Linked DNA regions of Homo sapiens: region 1 is linked to region 2. Evidence: promoter capture Hi-C in human tissues and cell types (Jung and others, 2019). All regions are on one chromosome and are shown on one strand. The core of a region is centred on a gene start or on the middle of the fragment in contact, and the rest is flanking DNA. Distances in the headings are between cores, read along the strand shown. Region 1 overlaps ATP2A2 (ATPase sarcoplasmic/endoplasmic reticulum Ca2+ transporting 2). Region 2 holds the start of ATXN2 (ataxin 2).

What was found. The method cuts DNA at HindIII sites, captures the fragments that hold promoters and counts their contacts. A contact is called where the count stands out against the background at its distance.
Region 1: a contact is called between a fragment that was not itself captured here and the fragment with the promoter of ATXN2 in region 2, in 1 of the 25 tissues and cell types used here (dorsolateral prefrontal cortex).

What each region holds. Positions count from the first base shown.
Region 1 is chr12:110,289,777-110,293,678 of GRCh38, reverse strand. It overlaps ATP2A2 (ATPase sarcoplasmic/endoplasmic reticulum Ca2+ transporting 2), which reads right to left. Exons shown (of 20, transcript NM_170665.4): 4 at 1,555-1,659. Among named protein-coding and RNA genes, the nearest start is that of ATP2A2, 10 kb to the right of the region's middle. The HindIII fragment of the contact is 6,416 bases long and covers 1-3,902 here.
Region 2 is chr12:111,597,151-111,601,616 of GRCh38, reverse strand. It overlaps ATXN2 (ataxin 2), which reads left to right and starts at 2,302. Exons shown (of 25, transcript NM_001372574.1): 1 at 2,302-2,833. The coding sequence starts at 2,583. ATXN2-AS (ATXN2 antisense RNA) reads right to left here and starts at 2,119. Exons shown (of 2, transcript NR_146497.1): 1 at 2,064-2,119; 2 at 1,362-1,789. RefSeq lists an enhancer at 1,568-1,797 and silencers at 2,258-2,567, 2,628-2,797, 2,888-2,937, 3,528-3,657. The HindIII fragment of the contact is 12,348 bases long and covers 1-4,466 here.

The DNA.
Region 1 (3,902 bases), core at 819-3,318, 1.3 Mb after region 2:
CACGCATGTAATCCTAGCACTTTGGGAGGCCAAGGCAGGGGGAATCATCTGAGGTCAGGAGTTTGAGACCAGCCTGACCAACAAAATGAAACCCCATCTCTATTAAAAGTAAGTAAGTTAGCTGGGCATGGTGGCACGTGCCTGTAATCCCAGCTACCCGGGAGGGTGAGACAGGAGAATTGCTTGATCCCGGGAAGTGGAGGTTGCAGTGAGCCAAGACTGCACCATTGCACTCCAGCCTGGGCAACAAGAGTGAAAGTCGGTCAAAACAAACAAACAAACAAACAAACAAAAAAAAAAAAAAAAAAAAAGGCCGGGAGTGGTGGCTCACACCTGTAATCCCAGCACTTTGGGAGGCCGAGGTGGGTGGATCACGAGGTCAGGGGTTTGAGACCAGCCTGATGGTGAAACCCCGTCTCTACTAAAAATACAAAAATTAGCTGGGTGTGGTGTCAGGTGCCTGTAATCCCAGCTACTCAAGGAGGCTGAGGCAGAACTGCTTGAACCTGGGAGGCGGAGGTTGCAGTGAGCCGAGATCGTGCCACTGCACTCCTGCCTGGGCGACAGAGAGTCGGTCTCAAAACAAAAACAAAAAAAAGGTCTACTTCAGTCCTCAAAGGGGTGATTATATCCGTCAAATACCTAAAAGATCAACACTTAACATGAATTTTAAGTCTCAGAGTCTGTAGTAAGCACTGAAGGGGAAACAATTTTTATAGCTAAACCTACCAAAAAAACCCAAGGAGAATAAAAATGACATGTAGCTTTTAAAGTTTGTCACAGGAAGCAACTAGGAGACATAAAGATAATGGTTCTCACATTCTCATTTCCTTAAGCAGCTTCTCTCACCCATTTTAATTCCTTGCTACCGTAAAGAATGAACAATGTTTTTCTGAGACAGTGTTGCTCCTTTGCCCAGACTGGAGTGCAGTGTTACGATCATGGCTCACTACAGTCTTGACCTCCTGGGTTCAAGCAACCCTCCCACCTCAGCCTCCTGAGTAGCTGAGACTACAGGCTGGTGCCACCACACTTGGCGAAGAATGAGCAATCTTAACTGCAAAGTTTATATGCATTAAGGTCAAAAATTTGCAATTAATTAAATTAATAGGCCGGGCATGGTGGCTCACGTCTGTAATCCCAGCACTTTGGGAGGCTGAGGAGGGCGGATCACTTGAGGTCAGGAGCTCAAGACCAGCCTGGCCAACATGGTGAAACCCTGTCTCTTACCAAAAAATACAAAAATGAGCTGGGCGTGGTGGTGCGTGCCTGTAGTCCCAGCTACTTGGGAGGCTGAGGCACGAGAACCACTTGAACCTGGGAGGAAGAGGTTGCAGTGAGCCGAGACAACACCATTGCACTCCAGCCTGGGCAACAGAGTGAGACTGTGTCAGAAAACAATTAATTTATGGAATAAAGGGAAAATACATGTAAACTTCCCGCAAACATATTTTTACTCAACACATCAGGAAAAACAGATAACAGAAAGATTAATACAGCCCTAATCACTTACATAACTTATTGAAATTTTGCAGTACAGGAATTTTTGCTTACCTGCCATACACCCACAATTGCATTGGCTACTAATATGAGTAAAATTACAAAAGGTTCTACAAAGGCTGTAATTGTTTCTTCACCTTCTTCAAACCAAGCCAAAACCTAGAAGAGAAATGGCACGTTAGAATGTGTCTTTTTAGGCTTAATGTCACTTTTTTAAAAAGTGGCTAGCACTGGCCGAGCATGGTGGCTCAGGCCTGTAATCCCAGCACTTTGGGAGGCCAAGGCAGGCGATCACCTGAGGTCAAGAGTTCCAGACCAACCTGCCCAACATGGCGAAACCCCATCTCTACTAAAAATACAAAAAATTAGCTGGACATGGTGGTAGGTGCCTGTAATCCCAGCTACTCAGGAGGCTGAGGCAAGAGAATCACTTGAACCTGGGGAGGCAAAGGTTGCAGTGAGCCGTGAGTGTACTGCATGCCATTGCACTCCAGCCTGGGCAGCAAGAGCGAAAACTCAAAAAAAAAAAAAAAAAAAAGTGGCTAGCACTAAAGGGATTATGATAGACAAAATCTATTTTCTTTCTCTAGAAATAAACGGTAGAAAATGCAATTATATAAACAACTGGCTATGTCTTGTTCATAAGAATTCTTGAAAGTCAAAACTATACTTCAGCTGGGCACAGTGGCTCACACCTGTAATCCCAACACTTTGGGAGGCTGAGGCGGGCAGATCACCTGAGGTCAGGAGTTCCAGACCAGCCTGGCCGACATGGCGAAACCCCGTCTCTACTAAAAATACAAAAAAATTACCTGGGCATGGTGATGTGTGTCAGTAATCCCACCTACTGGGGAGGCTGAGGCAAGAGAATCACTTGTACCTAGGAGGCGGAGGTGGCAGTGAGCCGAGATCGTGCCACTGCACTCCAGCCTGGGCAACAGAGCAAGACTCGGTCTCAAAACAAAAAAAAAAGCCGGGTGCGATGGCTCACGCCTGTAATTCCAGCACTTTGGGAGGCCAAGGCGGGGGGATCACCTGAGGTCTGGAGCTCGAGACCAGCCTGACCAACACGAAGAAACCCTATCTCTACTAAAATTACAAAATTAGCAGTGTGTGGTGGTGCATGCCTGTAATCCCAGCTACTCAGGAGGCTGAGGCAGGAGAATCGCTTGAACCCGGGAGGCAGAGGTTGCGGTGAGCCAAGATCGCACCATTGCACTCCAGCCTGGGCAACAAAAGCAAAACTCAAAAAACAAACAAAAAACTATACTTCATGGCTGGGTGTGGTGGTTCAAGTCTGTAATCCCAGCACTTTGGGAGGCCGAGACAGGTAGATCGCCTGAGGTCAGGAATTCGAGACCACCCTGGCCAACAAGGTGAAACCACCTCTACTAGAAACACAAAAAATTAGCCAGGTGTGGTGGCGCACACCTGCAGTCCTAGCTAGTTGGGAAGCTGAGGCAGGAGAATCGCTTGAACCTGGGAGGCAAAGGTTGCAGTGAGCTGAGATCGCACCACTGCACACCAGCCTGGGCGTTAGAGCAAGACTCAGTCTCAAAAAAACAACTATACTTCTTAAAAATACCTTATCTTTTGATGTAATAATTCCATTTTAGAATCCAAATAAAATCTGGGGAGAGGGAATAAATTCCATTCATTTTATATGTATCTATTTAGAAAAAATAAAACTTCAATTCTTGATTAAAGTAAAAGGTGATCATCTAACAGTCATGTTCATTTAGTTATTATTCATATCAAGTAATATCCATGTGACATAAATCCACAGTATAAACAACTTGATCACTGACTTAAATTTTAGAGCATATATAAACTGTTTAATTCTAGGCCGGGAACAGTGGCTCATGCCTATAATCCCGGCACTTTGGGAGGCCAAGGCAGGAGGATCATTTCATGCCAGGAGCTTGAGACCAGCCTGGGCAACATAGCGAGACCCTCATCTCTATAAAAGAAACAAAAAACCAGTTAATTCCCCGTTTCTTTTCAGTGGTACTACTGAAGGCTGTTTCAGAACCGCAAAGCTGTTGGGAGATCCGAAGTGTATTTTGTAGGTTATCCTCCATATGACATTTATACAGCAACACAGCACTTCAGAGATAACCTAAGTCCAAAAATGTAACTGGTCACAGAACACTGCCCCAAGAAAATGGGGCAGAGGTTTAAACTTTTAGCTCATACAACTATAAACTTGTTAAGATTTAAAAACTACAAAGTAAGAGTCACACTGCACTTCCCAATCCAACAACTATAAACGTGGTAAAAAGAGAGAACTCACCACAATGAATACTAAGAATAATGAATATGGTAAAGAGTGGTCTATGTGGTTAAAAATTTAAAAACCTCTTTTTGTGGAAACTTACCAATCCAGAAACAGTGTTAACCAC
Region 2 (4,466 bases), core at 1,053-3,552:
GTTCTTAAGATTGTATTCTGGGACCTTGATTCCAATCAGAGAAAAGTGATTGTATTTTTTTATTTTTATTTTTTTTAGATAAAGTTTCGCTCTTGTTGCCCAGGCTGGAGTGCAGTGGTGCCCTCTTTGGTCACTGTAACCTCCGCCTCCTGGGTTCAAGCGATTCTCCTGCCTCAGCATCCTGCGTAGCTGAGATCACAGATGCCCACCACCACGCCCAGCTAATTTTTTCGTATTTTTAGTAGCGATGGGGTTTCACCATGTTGGCCACGCTGGTCTTGAACTCCTGACCTCAGGTGATCCATCCGCCTCGGCCTCCCAGAGTGCTGGGATTACAGGTGTGAGCCACCGCGCCAGGCCAAGTGTTTGTATTTCTATTAAAGAAAGAATATAACGGGACACCATTGACGACCTGCTCCATTGCAGGCCTCCTTGCTGTTCCTCAGACTCCCCCCTCAGAGCCTTTGCCCTCGCTGTGCCCTCCACCTGGAGCGTTTCTCCCCAGGATCCTCATGCCCATGCTCATTTGGGTCCCTGCCCCATGTCACCCTCTCCAGGAGCTTCCCCTCACAGCAGCCCTGGCCTGTACCACAGCCGGGTACAGGTATTTTTTTGTTTCAACTGGTTTTTTAGTTCCAGTTTCCTTTAGGTTACTTTATTTATTTATTTATTTATTTATTTTTTGAGACGGAGTCTCGCTCTGTCGCCCAGGCTGGAGTGCATGATCTCGGCTGACTGCAACCTCCACCTCCCGGATTCAAGCAATTCTCCTGTATCAGCCTCCCGAGTAGCTGGGATTACAGGCGCCCACCACCACACCCGGCTAATTTTTATATTTTTGGTAGAGACGGGGTTTCACCATGTTGGCTAGGCTAGGTTAATTTTTAAAGGGTTTTGCAATGGTCCCTTGATCTACTTTTTACCTTAGATGGGAAATAAAACTGATTTCCTACATTGGCAGAATACAATGATCATTTTTGCCTGGACTATCTAGGAGGTTAATTTCAGTTGGACTACTGAAAACTGCTGGTTCAATCATTCTCCACGTTTATCTAAGTCTTTACCTTTATCTGGACAGTTCTAGGACATTGAGGGGAATTTTGGTGTTTCTTCCCCTATTATTTCCTGAAGTCATTTCACTTTAAAAAACAATAGATTCACTGCTCAAAAAAAAAAAAAAAAGTTACCTACTTTCTACTTGCTTCCAGTTTAACTGCAACACATTTTAAAAAGAGTCTACTGTGCTGGCTGGGTAAGTTAAATTAAAACTTCTAAAGGGTCCAAGGTCTAAAGTTCGCACATTGTTTTGAGGTCGGCTCTGTCTCTACCGAGGGAGATCCCATTATCCGTAGTTCTACCAGTCCCAATCCCATATATTTCCTTTAGAATCTCATGAATGAGGAAAAAGAAGTTCAAGTGAGGGAACATAGGTTCAAATGAAGGTCAGATACCTAAAAGAGTTTTCTGGTGACTGTGCGCGGCTGGGGTGGAAAAAGTGGGGAAAAGGTACCCAGATGTGGGTGGCCCCGGAGGGTTGCTCCACTCCAGCCCCGGCAGGGCAGGACAGCGCGGCCTGCCTGGTAGATGCCCCGAGCCACTGGAGCGCCTACTGTGTGGCGGGCGGGGGACGGCAGGAAAACGGCAGGATGCTGTGTCCCCTGAATCTGGCAGGGTTCTAGGTGCTTTACACGTAGCAAGACACATTCTCCGCCCCAAGGCACTCGCAGTCAGTCCATTTTCTGGGTTGCATCAGGTGGGGGCAAACTAGGTCCCCGCAGAAGTGAAGATGCTGAAGGAATACAGTAGGAGAAGAAATGCTTCTCTCCTGTCCTCCACACCAGGCAGGCCCCAGAGGCTGAGACCGACACGCCCTCCCCGAAGGGCAGACCCGCCTTGAGGAAGGCGGATCCGGGTAGGGACCGCCGCCTGGCCCTCACCCGACCCCCGAGAAAGCAACCCAGCGCGCCGCCCGCTCCTCACGTGTCCCTCCCGGCCCCGGGGCCACCTCACGTTCTGCTTCCGTCTGACCCCTCCGACTTCCGGTAAAGAGTCCCTATCCGCACCTCCGCTCCCACCCGGCGCCTCGGCGCGCCCGCCCTCCGATGCGCTCAGCGGCCGCAGCTCCTCGGAGTCCCGCGGTGGCCACCGAGTCTCGCCGCTTCGCCGCAGCCAGGTGGCCCGGGTGGCGCTCGCTCCAGCGGCCGGCGCGGCGGAGCGGGCGGGGCGGCGGTGGCGCGGCCCCGGGACCGTATCCCTCCGCCGCCCCTCCCCCGCCCGGCCCCGGCCCCCCTCCCTCCCGGCAGAGCTCGCCTCCCTCCGCCTCAGACTGTTTTGGTAGCAACGGCAACGGCGGCGGCGCGTTTCGGCCCGGCTCCCGGCGGCTCCTTGGTCTCGGCGGGCCTCCCCGCCCCTTCGTCGTCCTCCTTCTCCCCCTCGCCAGCCCGGGCGCCCCTCCGGCCGCGCCAACCCGCGCCTCCCCGCTCGGCGCCCGCGCGTCCCCGCCGCGTTCCGGCGTCTCCTTGGCGCGCCCGGCTCCCGGCTGTCCCCGCCCGGCGTGCGAGCCGGTGTATGGGCCCCTCACCATGTCGCTGAAGCCCCAGCAGCAGCAGCAGCAGCAGCAGCAGCAGCAGCAGCAGCAACAGCAGCAGCAGCAGCAGCAGCAGCAGCCGCCGCCCGCGGCTGCCAATGTCCGCAAGCCCGGCGGCAGCGGCCTTCTAGCGTCGCCCGCCGCCGCGCCTTCGCCGTCCTCGTCCTCGGTCTCCTCGTCCTCGGCCACGGCTCCCTCCTCGGTGGTCGCGGCGACCTCCGGCGGCGGGAGGCCCGGCCTGGGCAGGTGGGTGTCGGCACCCCAGCCCCCTCCGCTCCGGGCCCGGCGTCCCCTCCCCCGCGGCCCGCGCCGCCGTCCCCGCCCCGTGACCCGCCGGGCTACCCGGGGTGGGCTGGGGGCCGGCAGCGCGGGGGAGACTCGCTCGGGCCTGAGCCCCGAGGCTCGGCCGGTGGGCGCAGCCGGGGTCCTCTGGGATTGTCAGGCCTGTCCAGCCTCCCGCAGCATCCCCGCCCCCTCCCCCGGCGGTCAAGATGGAGGGAGCGGGCGGCCTCCCCTCCCCACGCGTGTTGGGAGGGGTTCTCGGGTAGCGGCGATGGTCAGCCCCGGCTCCCCCTTCCGCACGATCCTCCGCCCGCAGCGTGGGGATGCTCGGGCAGCTCCTCCACTCCCGGTTTAGGTGTGAACGTTGGAGGGGTCTGGAGGCTGTGGTGGCGTTTTCCGGAACATGTCCCCCTCCATGGGGGACATCTCTGGAGGGGAGAAGTTAGGGCCGCGTCCCCCGTGCCGGTTAAAGGGGTAGGCACCGGGCTCCTCCGGAATCATCAGGGTCTGTCGGGGCTCTCTCCCCGCCCCCTCCGAGTCCTGGGAAAGATCGGAGGACGGGGTGGAGACAAGTGGGCCTTGGCCCCCGCACCCCTCTGCGTTCGTGTCCGAGGCGGCGGCGGGGGCTCCCGAACTCCCCTGAAATCGTGGGGCTCCATGTGGCCTCCGGCAGCGTTCCACCCTCCCCCACCTGGGGAAGGGAAGGGGTGGGGAGTGCCCGGCCCCGTCCCGGCCTTCCTCCTTCCCCCGCCAGACCTCTCCGGCGCGCGGGTGGTGGCCGATCCGCATTGCTGTTCGAGGCCGCAGTGGAGAAGGCGCCTGTGGAACATCGGTGGGTGAGGGCTGGACCCAGGCTGGACCCTGGAGATCCGGGGTGGCGGTGCTGGTGGCAGGGGGCGGGCACCCTGCGCACTTATCCCAACCCCCGCCCCAATTTCGGAAATGCTAGGAGAGAGAGATTGCAGCAGGGGACGTGGTCGGGTTCCTGAAGGCAGAAAGGCGGGTGTTTACTAGCGTCTTTTTCCCTCCTAAGCCGGGGTTGTAGTAGGGGCTGGGGGCTCAGTGTTGTCCCGGCTAACTGGGTTTGACTCGAGGGTGTGTTTGTGCAGGAGGGCCTGTTGGGGGTGGCGGGCGGTTGTCAGTTCGTATTTCACGAACTAAGAAAATGCTTAGTGTTCAAAGGGAGAAGGAAACGTCAATAGACTCCATTCCATTGTGGCCGGTGTCCTTAACTTCGGGAGTGCCGCCAGAGCTTACCAAGGGCACGCAAGTCCATTTCCCTTGTGCCTCAAGTCCATCCGTGTTGTAGGCACTACTGTGCCTTCTTTAGGCCTAGGCCGCCGGCTTGACGGCGGGTGACCGGCGTCCTCCTTAAATAGGCATCTTGGGCTTTGGAAGGTGGAATAAGAGGATTTTTCATTCACCCGAGTTTTCTTTTTGAAAACACATTTTCAGCAACCCATTTCCAAAGAATTTTTATTTACAGCAGAAATTCCCCATCAAGAGGAATCAGCTGGTTTTTAAGGAATTCTGCTGCCTTCAAAGGGGGCGGAAACAGTCGGTTATTTGACTTTACACGCCCCGCCCCCCCTTCCCC